Linked DNA regions of Homo sapiens: all the other regions are linked to region 3. Evidence: promoter capture Hi-C in human tissues and cell types (Jung and others, 2019). All regions are on one chromosome and are shown on one strand. Each heading gives the region's core, a stretch centred on a gene start or on the middle of the fragment in contact. The rest is flanking DNA. Distances are from core to core; before and after follow the strand shown.

What was found. Contacts are between HindIII fragments. The study calls those that stand out against the background at their distance.
Region 1: a contact is called between a fragment that was not itself captured here and the fragment with the promoter of ACVR2A in region 3, in 1 of the 25 tissues and cell types used here (dorsolateral prefrontal cortex).
Region 2: a fragment that was not itself captured here is called in contact with the fragment with the promoter of ACVR2A in region 3 in 1 of the 25 tissues and cell types used here (mesenchymal stem cells).
Region 4: a fragment that was not itself captured here is called in contact with the fragment with the promoter of ACVR2A in region 3 in 1 of the 25 tissues and cell types used here (lymphoblastoid cells).

What each region holds. Positions count from the first base shown.
Region 1 is chr2:147,129,854-147,132,714 of GRCh38, forward strand. No RefSeq gene overlaps it. Among named protein-coding and RNA genes, the nearest start is that of LINC01911, 290 kb to the left of the region's middle. The HindIII fragment of the contact is 4,380 bases long and covers 1-2,861 here.
Region 2 is chr2:147,264,585-147,267,763 of GRCh38, forward strand. No RefSeq gene overlaps it. Among named protein-coding and RNA genes, the nearest start is that of LINC01911, 430 kb to the left of the region's middle. The HindIII fragment of the contact is 5,441 bases long and covers 1-3,179 here.
Region 3 is chr2:147,843,635-147,846,543 of GRCh38, forward strand. It overlaps ACVR2A (activin A receptor type 2A), which reads left to right and starts at 1,395. Exons shown (of 11, transcript NM_001616.5): 1 at 1,395-1,573. The coding sequence starts at 1,519. RefSeq lists an enhancer at 1-495 and silencers at 622-811, 892-1,001, 1,757-1,836. The HindIII fragment of the contact is 7,112 bases long and covers 1-2,909 here.
Region 4 is chr2:147,183,406-147,186,534 of GRCh38, forward strand. No RefSeq gene overlaps it. Among named protein-coding and RNA genes, the nearest start is that of LINC01911, 350 kb to the left of the region's middle. The HindIII fragment of the contact is 5,957 bases long and covers 1-3,129 here.

The DNA.
Region 1 (2,861 bases), core at 116-2,615, 710 kb before region 3:
TAGTTCAATACAAGAAGAGGAGCTTTCCCAGGATTTCTGCCTCTTCTGGAGTTTAAGGCCCCTGTCTTGCCATTCTCTCAGTAGCAAGCTTCTCTATGGGGTATTTTAAATGTAAGAAGCAGAAGGGCTATTATACCAACCGCTGTCATACAAATAAAACTTCAGCCATCCATATCACTGACACCAGCTGTTTCTGTTAAGAGAAAAAGTGTAATCATTTTTCTTGTAAGGATTCTTGCATGAATTCATGAATCTGATGTTGATTTTGTCTCTGCTCAATCTAGTTGACCAGAGTCATGACTACCAGAATTTTTAAAAAATATGTAGAGTCAGTTCTCCCTCTTGTATAACTTGACCATCCTCCACAATTGCTCACAGCCTGAGGCAGCCTGAAGATGTTTTACAAAAAGTCTGTGAGCCAAAAAGTAATCAATCAAAACATATTTAAGAAGCATTATAATCGACCTCGAAGGGAAAAGTAAAGGATGTACAGGCAGACTCCATCTGTGACTAGGTTATCAATAATAGTTGTTTGACCTTTTGTGAGTTAGCAAGCATATATACAATGTTATTGTGGCAAACAATCAGCCAACTCTAGAAAGTCATTTTATCCAATTACATATCTGAAAAGAAAATTGATAATCTAAAAGAAACTGATCATGACATAGAAAAGTGTTTCCACATTAAAACTGGTTTCCAGTTCCAAGTCGGTATGCCTGAGCCAGTGTCTTCCTTATGTCTCCTTCTTCCTTCACCTTCCAACAGGAGCTGAACAGCCCTGCCTCAACACAGCAAAGGCTGAGATTTCAGAGACTTGAGGGCTATTGGGAGCTCAGAACATGGCATCAAGTCCCAAGGAGGAAAAACTATGGATCCTGGAACCTTGCTGTTGTCATACTTGGGGGCCTGTCTTAAAAGTCTCACTTGGTGATATGGGCTGAGTCATGTCCCTCCCCAAAATTCTTATGTTGAAGTCCTAATCCCTAGTACCTCAGAATGTGATTAGATTTGGAGATAGGGTCTTTAGTGAGATAATTAAGGCAAAAGGAGGTCATATGGGTGGGGCCTCCTTACAGAGGAGACTGGTATCTCTGTAAGAAGAGGAATGAGGACAGAGACACGTACAGACCAAGGGACCATCATATGAGGACACAGAAAGAAGGGATCCATCTTCAAGTGAAGAAAAGAGGCTTCAGGAGAAACCAAACCTGCCAACGTCTTGATCTGGAACTTCTAGCTTCCAGAATTTAAAGAAAATAAATTTATGTTGTTTAAGCCTCCCAATCTGTGGTGTTTTTGCTATGGCAGTCCTAGCAAACTAATACATCTGGCTACCTGTCACCTCTTGCTTTTCTTCTAAGGGCTCTAAAGACTAACAAGTTCCCACTGGTTGTTTCAAATAGAATTTCTCCCTTCCCCCAGAAGCAAAATGCAGCCCAGATCTTTCCTTAAGGATGCCCCTGGATCAGGTACAGCCTTTTAAAAATGTGTTTATTAAGAGTTTTGAGCAGTAGAAACAATATGGAAAACTCATATGAAGTTTAAGGTTGTTTGCTTGCTACTCCTCTTAATTCAGTAATTCCTTCTGATAATGGGAATCCCTTATTTATACTGATAAACTTTCAAATTCCCATAGGGTATCTGCTGATTAATAAAATACAAAATTCCAAAAGACTATTATGTATTCAATAGTGTGCTTAAATAATGTTGAATATTTCAAATCATGGTAGTATGCATATTCAAGTAGTGTTACCCACTTTATAAGCTTGGGATACAAATATAGTAATAACTCTTTTTCAATTTATCATCAAATTTCCATAGGCTTCTATTAGCAAAATTTCCATGAATCCTATTAGATAATATTTGGGCTTACTTGGAAAAAATATACCATGTCCTTCTAAACACCAAGTGGAGAAAGAACTGTAAAATCCCACCGGTTCATGACCACTGCCATATTGGCGTTGAATGATTGCTACTGAACAATAATACCCTGTGGCACAAGGAACATGAATGTAGTGTGCAGTGACGCCTTTGTCATTCTGTTTCCTGTCAGCACCTCCATAGTTCCTCAAACAAGACTCCTAGTACCTTCAGTCATTCTTCTCCAAAGGGTGGCAGGACCTGCAGGTACATCTTGGCTCAGACACATGCCACACTAGCTCTAATCTCCTATAAAAGCACCAGAATCTATACTGAGATGAGGTTGCCAGCCATTTAACTTATAGTCAGAGCCTCTCTAGGACTTCTGGCATCCTTTAGCACCAACTAGCTTTGTCCACCCAGGTAGGTTTCCCTTACTCCTAATCTCAGAGATAAGAGGTTAGAATCTTAACCCCATCCTTCATAAACAATTTCGTGGCTTTTCTTCATCCTTCTCCCCAAACACTAACTCTGAAAACCAAGAGGCCAGGGACCAAAATTGTTTCTATTATAAGATTCCCCTAAATGACGAGTTAATGGGTGCAGCACACCAACATGGCACATGTATACATATGTAACAAACCTGCACATTGTGCACATGTACCCTAAACCTTAAAGTATAATAATAAAATTAAAAAAAAAGATTCCCCCAGCACAATGGCACTTTCTTGCCCAGCAACTGCTTAACTAAGAAGAATTACTCAAGTAAATCTTCCTATAATGAGAGAACTCTGCTGCAAGATGATTTGCAATTTCCATTTCTGTGTATAGAAGTGATTAACTGGTAATATATTGTTTCACCTACTGCAAACATACATTTGAAAAGGATATATGCAGAAATAATTTTATATCATATTATGTGTAAACAAACATAATGCACTGTGTATTGACAGATGTATTACTCAGGTTTCACTTGCCACTTTGTGCACTTGTGCTATTCC
Region 2 (3,179 bases), core at 72-2,571, 580 kb before region 3:
TTTATTTGGGTCTTCTCTCTTTACTCTCAGTTAATCTAGCTAAAGCTTTATTTATTTTGTTTATCTTTTTAATAGAGTAACTTTCTGTTTCATTGATCCTCTGTATTTTTTTACTCTCAATTCTATTTATTTCTACTGTGATCTTTATTATTTCTTTCTTTCCACAAATTCTGAGTTTGTCTTGTTCTTAATCTTCTAGTTCCTTAAGGTAAATTGTTAGGTTGTTTACTTGAAGTCTTTCTACTTTTTTGATATAGACATTTATTGTTGTAAACTTCCCTCTTAGTACTGCTTTTGCCATATCCGATTGATTTTGATATGTTGTATTTTCATTTTCATTTGTTTCAAGAAATGTATTAATTTTCTTTTTGATTTGTACATTAACCTGTTGGGCATTCAAGGGCATGTGGTTTAATTTCCATATGTTTATGTATTTTTTTCAAGGTTACTATTGTTATTGATTTCTAGTTTTATTTTATTGTGGTTAGAAAAGATACTTGATATGATTTTTTAAAATTTTATTCAGACTTATTTTGTAGCCTAAGATATAGAACATTCTTCAGAATGTTTCATGTGCTGATGAAAAAAATGTGTATAAGACCAAATAGACCCACAGGCTCTAAACTACCAGACCTGCATTAAAAATTTCGGTTGGGGCGACCTCGGAGTATAACCCAACCTCTGAGCAACATATGTTGACTGTAGCAGTTGGTTGAAATATTCTGTAAATGTCACTTAGGACTATTTAATCTCGTGTGTAGTTTAACTCCACTGTTCCTTTGTTGATTTTCTGTCCAGGTTATCTGTCTATTACTAACAGTGGGGTGTTAAAGTCCCCAACTATTATTGTACTCCAGTCTATCCTCCCTTTAGATCTATTTATGTTTGCCTTATATACTTGGGAGCTCCAGTGTTGGGTGCATAGCTATTTATAATTGTTATATTCTCTTGCTGAATTGACTCTTCTATCATTATATACTGACCTTCTTTATCTCTTTTTACAATCTTAGATTTGTAATCTGTTTTGCCTGATATAAGTATAGCTACTCCTTTGGCTTCCAGTTGTATGCAATATCATTTTCAAAACCCCTTCACTTTTAGTTTATGTGTGTTTTTATAGGTGAAGTGGGTTTCTTGAAGTTTCTGTTTCTTTATTCATTTGGCCATTCTGTGATCTTTAATTAGCAAATTGAGACCATTTACATTCAGTGTTGTTTTTGATAGGTAAGGACACACTACAGCCATTTTGTTGCCTGTTTTCTGGTTGCTCTGAGACTCCTCTCTTCCTTTCTTACTGTATTCCTTTGTGGTTAAGTGATTTTCTCTCGTAGTATGTTTTAATTTGTTGCTTTTTATTTTTAGTGAATCTATTATAGGTTTTTGTGCTGTGGTTACCACGAAGCTTACAAAAAACATCTTATAGATATAACAAGTTATTCTAAAGAGATGACAACTTGGATCACAAAGAAAAGAATAGAAACAAAAGCAACAACAACAAAAAATGCACAGTTTAACTCCATCTCCCCCCACATTTCGATGTTGAGTTGTCTCAATATACATATTTTTATATTACCTATCTCTTAGTTGTTGTAGCTATTATTGTTTCTGATAGATTTGTCTTTTGGGCTTCATACCAGAGTTATAAGCAGATTGCAAACCACAGTTACAGTAATAGAGTATTCTGGCTTTATTCATATACTTAAGTTTACCATTGGGTTTCATACCTTGAAAAGTTTTCTTTTTGCATGTTAGTGGTTTCTTTTCTTTCAGATTGAAGAACTCTTTTTAGCATTTCTTGTAAGATGGGTCTAGTGGTGGTAAATTCTCTCAATTTTGTTTTTCTGGGAAAGACTTCATTTCTCCTTCATTTTTGAAGGATAATTTTGCTGGTTACAGTATTCTCAAATGGCAGTTTTTTTCCTTGAGTACTTTGAAAATGTCATTCCACTCCTTCCTGGACTGTACAGTTTCTGTTGAGAACTTTGTTGCCAGACAAATTGGAGATCCTCTACATGTGATTTGCTTATTTTCCCTTGCTGCTTTTAGTATCCTCTCTTTGTCCTTGACTTTTGAGAGTTTTATTATTATATGTGTTGGATAGAATTTGGGTTGGATCTGTTTGGTGTTCTCAGATGTTTCTGTACCTGAATATTTACATCTTTCTCAAGTTTTGGAAAGTTTTCTGCTATTACTTCTTTGAGTAAGGTTTCTAACCCTTGCTGTCACCAAGCTCCCTCTTGAAAAACAATAATTCTTAGATTTTGTCTTTCGGGGTAATTTCTATATCTCATAGGTGGTCTTCATTTATTTTCATCCTTTTTTTTGCCACTGAATGTGTGTTTATAAATATATGGTCTTCAAGCTCACTAATTTTTTTCTTCTGCTTGGTCCATTCTGCTGGTGAAAGCCTCTAATAGGTTCTTGATGTCAGCAAATGTATTTCTCAGTTATAAAATTTTTGTTTGATTTTTAAATTATTTCAATCTCTTAATTTTCTCTAATAAATTTCTGAATTGCTTTCTGTATTATCTTGGATATCACTGAGTTTCCTTAAAACTGCTATTTTGGATTCTTGGTCAGAGAGTTCATAAATTGTTGTCTCACTAAGGTCAGTCGTTGGAAACTTGCTTTTTCCTTTTGGGGAAATCGTAGTTCCCTGTTTGCTATTGTTGCTTGTGTGTATTTGTACTGAAGGGTTATTTATTTATTTCCATTTTATTTCCCTGGCTTATTTTGTTTTTTATTGGCTATGTTTGCCTAGCAAATCTTTACTGTTAGGTAGCTGCCTCATTTTTGGCTATATGTGGTACCTTAAGCCCAGTTTCACCTTGACTTCAGTAAATGATTGGAGTTCCACTCTCCCAAAAGGCAGCAATCTCAAAAGAATTATCCCAGCAGTGTGGGAAAGCTGGCTAGGAGTTCTTGCTGAGGGATCTATGAAATATACCTCCTACAGTGTGGTGCTGCTGAATAGCCACTTTGATTTGGTGTCACCTTTGGTCAAGTTACAAAAAAGAGTTTATAGGACTAGGGATGGTAGCCCAACCTCCCCTTGTCTCTAGCTGTCCTCAGGGATATTTCTCCCTTCAGGCAGTCATTATATTTCCTTTGGGTTAAGGAAAGAACAGATCTCCTGCCAGGGAACTCAACATTATGGGAAAATTGATTGACCACCTCAA
Region 3 (2,909 bases), core at 145-2,644:
AAGCGCAGTAAACAAGTATTTGCGCACCTATTACGTGCAAAACAGTTTTCAACACAATGCTTTGTGTGTAAAAGGAACGGCGGGAATGGATTCAAGTTGCGCATCGTGATAAATGGCGTGAATATCCTGAGCGGGTGGACAGCCCTTCCTCCGTGAGTTTTTTCTTTTTCTTTTCTAGTCACCAAGACAGCACGCGTGTGCAGAAGCTGCAGCGGTGGGACGCAGTGCTAAGTCTGGGGGCGCACACACCAGCTCGCGCGTCGCGAGCTCGCCTGGGCAGCTCGGCGGGCGCGGCGAAACAGCTCCCACGTCCGCCTTCCACCGACTCCTCGGTATCAGAGCGGACGAGGCGTCCCCCCAGAGGAAAGACTGGGCGCCGCAGACGCCCCTTGGAGAAGTCCCTGGCCACTCGCCCCACCTCGGGGTCCTCTTCCTCTTGGGCTTCTCCTGACCCTTTGGGTGGGCGCTCCAGACAGGCCCGTCGGACGCGATTTGGAAACGGGTCGTGCCCGGCCTAGCCCGCATCTACTCGCCCGGCCACAGCCCAGCCACAGCTTAGGGACTTTGAGGCGCCCGCGCCCCTTTGTCGCGGTATCTCTAGCCCAAGCAGGCCGGACGCCGAGGCCTCGCGGTATCGAGCCTCCGTCCGCCCCGCCTCCTCGCCCTCCACTCCGCCCCGCCCTCGCTCTCTCACCCCTCCCCCGCTCCCGCCTCGCTTCCCCGACAATCTCCTCGCGCTCCCGGCCCGGCACGCGCGCTGCGCCCGGCCGCCGCTGCCGCCGCCGCCGCCGCCGCCGCTGCCGCCGAGCGTTCCTCCGCTGCGCCTGGCTTCCAGCTTCGGGCCGGAACCGGAAGTTTGGGGGGCGGAGCCCGGCGGAGGCCAGGAGACCGAAAACGCGGCCGAGCCCGGAGCCCGGAGCTGGAGCCAGAGCCTGGACCAGAACTTGGCCGCCGCCTGCACCGCCGCCGCCGCTGCCGCCCGCCGCCCCTTCCCCGCGCCGCAGCCGCCTCGCCGCCACCGCCGCGAGCTCGGCCGCCAGTGGTCCTCGGACTTTAGGTGTCTGGGTTGAAGGTCGGTCCGGACATCGGACCCAGTCAGTTCCCAGACTGTCCGGGCGGCAGCGGACGCCGCTGCCGCCGCCGCCTCTTCGTCGCCTCAGCCTGGCGTTTTGTTCCGAGAGACGGGAGAGGCGAGCGGAGCTGACAGTGATTTTGACAGTGATTTAAACCCGCTTTTGTTGTTGTTGGCTTTTCGTTGTTTGGTTTTGTGTGTTGTGCGTGTGTGTGGCGGTTTTTCCCCCGTGGTGCATTTTATTTTTTATCGTTGTGCTCTTTTTTTTCTTTTTTTTTTTTAACCCAGTGAGCGTTTTTTTTTTTTTTTTTTTTTTTTTTTGGTCTGGGCTTCCGAATATGTTTTATGACGGTTGATTTTACACCAGGAGGTTTGTCTCCGAGGAAGACCCAGGGAACTGGATATCTAGCGAGAACTTCCTCCGGATTCCCCGGCGCCTCGGGAAAATGGGAGCTGCTGCAAAGTTGGCGTTTGCCGTCTTTCTTATCTCCTGTTCTTCAGGTAGGTGCAGGGAGCGCGGCGCGGTGGGGCTGCTCCTGCGGCCGCGGCGGCCGCTGCTGGGGGCCGCGGCTGGTGTTGAGTCGGAGAGTCCAGTGGAGCCTGGGGAGGTTGCCCACTCCCTGCGCCCCTCGGCTGCCACCGCCCCCCCCCCCCGCCCCCAGGTCTGATTGTGATCTGGAAACCTCCATGCATTTTTCTCTTTTTGAGTTGGGTCGGCGAGCTGATAAGAGTGAGTGCTGTGTTGTTGTGGAAGTGAGAAAGTCATGTTTTGTGGCCATAACACTGGATGACAGCGCTGGTTGGGTTGCAATTAAGCCGCAAATACCACAAGTGACAATTTATGCAAAGGTTGAGATCTGAAAGGAGTATTTAGTGTGGGCTCCTCCAAAACAAGGGTTGCTTTTTGTCATCGTTTAATTAGTGCTTCACCGGTGAATATCACGACATAGATCAAGCCAGTTGCTGCTTAATTTTGGCTGTGGGAAACAATACATCCTATCAGCAATTTAATCTGGGTCTCCCCTCACGTTTTCTTCAACTTCAGCGTCCAGCAGTGTTAAAAATAGTTGTAGTTGTTGTTGGAGTATTAACTATAACCCAGTGCAGAAGAGGTATGCCGCTTGGTATTGGTAATGTGCTGGCGTTCAACCACCATTTGTGTGCTCTTTTGGGGCATAGATTTTGCTTACCTACGGAATACTTATTTTAAACGCTTTGTATTGAAGCATTGTTTTCGGTTTAGAACAACCCATGTGAAATTGTTTTTGTTAAATATAGTACACTCATAAAATAGGTTTTAGCTCAAGGTTGGGGGAATAAACGGGCCATTTTATATTGGAAATTTTGATTTTGTGAGGACGTTCTATGGTTGCAACCAGTGGTTGGAAAAACTATCTAGTCTTTTGTATTTGAAATTCTATAAATAAATACAGCATCTAGCTGAAAGGTGTGCAGATGTACATAACAGGAGAGTTAGTTCAATAGATGAAACATTTTAAATAAGTCTCATTGGATCTATTTATTGTAAAATTTAATATTCAGTTACAAGCTTGTGGCATAGAATTACGGGGGACTCTTGGAAACGGGGGCGAATTGACAGGTTTCATGGCCATGTCTTTATCTCGTTTGCCACAGGAAAATTAAAGGGTGGTAGTCTTCTTTGTGTACCTCTGTGGGGTGTGTGTGTGTGTGTTTGTGTGTTTGTGTCCGTCTTCCCCACCCCCCTTTAAATATAATCTTTTGTAATGTATAGAATTTTGCTGAATGGTACATTTCCTTGTGGTTAATAAATGGATAAAGTCTAGTCTTATGTCTGTAGTGGTATTGATCAGTTCCG
Region 4 (3,129 bases), core at 263-2,762, 660 kb before region 3:
AAGACCAAAGGTAGAGAAATCCATGAAGATGAGGAAAAAACAGAGCAAAAAGGCTGAAAATTCCCAAAACCAGAATGCCTCTTCTCCTCCAAAGGATCACAACTCCTTGCCAGCAAGGGAACAAAACTGGAAGGAGAATGAGTTTGATGAATTGACAGAAGTAGCTTCAGAAGGTGCGTAATAACAAACTCCTCCAAGCTAAAGGACCACGTTCTAACCCAAGGCAAGGAAGCTAAGAACCTTGATAAAAGGTTACAGGAACTAACTAGAATAACCAGCTCAGAGAAGAACATAAATGACCTGATGGAACTGAAAAACACAGCAAGAGAACCTCGTGAAGCATACACAAGTATCAATAGCCGGAATCAGTCAAGCGGAAGAAAGGCTATCAGAGATTGAAGATCAACTTAAGGAAATAAAGGGTGAAGACAACATTAGAGAAAATAGAATGAAAAGGAATGAACAAAGCTATCAAGAAATTTGGAACTATGTGAAAAGACCAAACTTATGTTTGATTGGTATACCTGAAAGTGATGGGGAGAATGGAACCAAGGTGGAAAATACGCTTCAGGATATTATCCAGGAGAACTTCCCCAGCCCAGCAAGACAGGCCAACATTCAAATTCAAGAAATACAGAGAACACCACAAAGCTGCTCCTCAAGAGGAGCAATACCAAGCACATAACCATCAGATTCACCAAGGTTCAAATGAAGGAAAAAATGTTAAGGGCAGCCAGAGAGAAAGCCCAGGTTATCCACAAAGGAAAGCCCATCAGACTAACAGAGGATCTCTCTGCAGAAACCCTACAAGCCAGAAGACAGTAGGGGCCAATATTCAATGTTGTTAAAGAAAAGAATTTTCAACCCAGAATTTCATATCCAGCCAAACTAAGCAAAGGAGAAATAAAATCCCTTACAGACAAGCAAATGCTAAGAGATTTGGTCACCACCAGGCCTGCCTTACAAGAACTCCTGAAGAAAGTACTAAATATGGAAAGGAAAAACTGGTATTAGCCACTGCAAAAACATACCAAAATGTAAAGACCAACGACACTATGAAGAAACTGCATCAACTAATGGGCAAAATAACCAGATAGCATCATAATGACAGGATCAAACTCACACATGACAATATTAACCTTAAATGTAAATGGGCTAAATGCCCCAATTAAAAGACACAGATTGGCAAATTGGATAGAGTCAAGACCCATCAGTGTGCTGTATTCAGGAGACCCATCTTACATGCAAAGACATACATAGGCTCAAAATAAAGGGATGGAGGAAAATTTAACAAGCAAATGGAAAGCAAAAAAAGCAGGGGTTGCAATCCTAGTCTCTGATAAAACAGACTTTAAACCAACAAACATCAAAAAAGATAAAGAAGGGCATTACATAGTGGTAAAGGGATCAAGAAGAAGAGCTAACTATCCTAAATATATATACACCCAATACAGGAGCACCCAGATTCATAAAGCAAGTTCTTAGAAACGCACAAAGAGACTTAGACTCCCACACAATAATAGTGAGGGACTTTAACATCCCACTGTCAATATTAGACAGATCAACGAAACAGAAATTTAACAATGATATTCAGGACTTGAACTCAATTCTGGACCAAGTGGACCTAATAGACATTTTCAGAACTCTGCACCCCAAATCAAGAGAATATATGTTCTTCTCAGCACCACATAGCACTTATCCTAAAATTGACCATATAATTGGAAGTAAAACACTACTCAGCAAATGGAAAAGAATGGAAATTATAACAAACAGTCTCACAGACCACAGTGCAATCAAATTAGAACTCAGGATTAAGAAACTCACTCAAAACCGCACAACCACTTGGAAACTGAACAACCTAGGTAACAGAGGATCTCTCTGATTACTAGGTATATAACGAAATGAAGGCAGAAATAAAGCTCTTTGAAACCAATGAGAACAAAGACACAATGTACCAGAATCTCTGTGACACAGCTAAAGCAGTGTTCAGAGGAAAATTTATAGCAGTAAATGCCCACAGGAGAAAGTGGGAAAGATCTAAAATTGACACCCTAAAAACACAATTAAAAGAACTAGAGAAGCAAAAGCAAACAAATTCAAAAGCTAGCAGAAGAATAAATAAGATCAGAGCAAAACTGTAGGAGATAGAGACACAAAAAACCCTTAAAAAAAATCAATGAATCCAGCAGTTGGTTTTTGAAAAGATTAACAAAATAGATAGACCACTAGCCAGATTAATAAAGAATAAAAGAGAGAAGAATCAAATAGACATAATAAAAAATGATAAAGGGGATATCACCGCTGATCCCACAGAAATACGAACTACCATCAGAGAATACTACAAACACCTCTAAGCAAATAAACCAGAAAATTTAGAAGAAACAGATAAATCCCTGGACACATACACCCTCCCAAGACTAAACCAGGAAGAAGTCAAATCCCTGAATAGACCAATAACAAGTTCTGAAATTGAGGCATTAATTAATAGCCTACCAACCAAAAAAAAGCCCAGGACCAGATGGATTTATAGCTGAATTCTACCAGAGGTACAAAGAGGAGATGGTACCATTCCTTCTAAAACTATTCCAAACAATAGAAAATGAAGGACTCCTCCCTAACTCACTTTATAAGGCCAGTATCATCCTGATACCACAACCTACAGAGACACAACAAAGAAAGAAAATTTCAGGTCAATATCCCTGATGAACATCGATGCAAAAATCCTCAATAAAATACTGGCAAACCGAATCCAGTAGCACATTAAAAAGCTTATCGACCACGATCAAGTCAGCTTCACCCCTGGGATGCAAGGCTGGTTCAGCATATGCAAATCAACAAACGTAATCTATCACACAAACAGAACCAATGACAAAAACCACCTGATTATCTCAATAGATGCAGAAAAGGCCTTCGATAAAATTCAACACCCCTTCATACTAAAAACACTCAATAAACTATGTATTGATGGAATGTATCTCGAAAAATAAAAACTATTTACGACAAACCCACAGCCAATATCACACTGAATGGGCAAAAGCTGGAAGCATTCCCTTTGAAAACTGGCACAAGAAAAGGATGCCCTCTCTCACCACTCCTATTCAACATAGTATTGGAAGTTCAGGCCAGGGC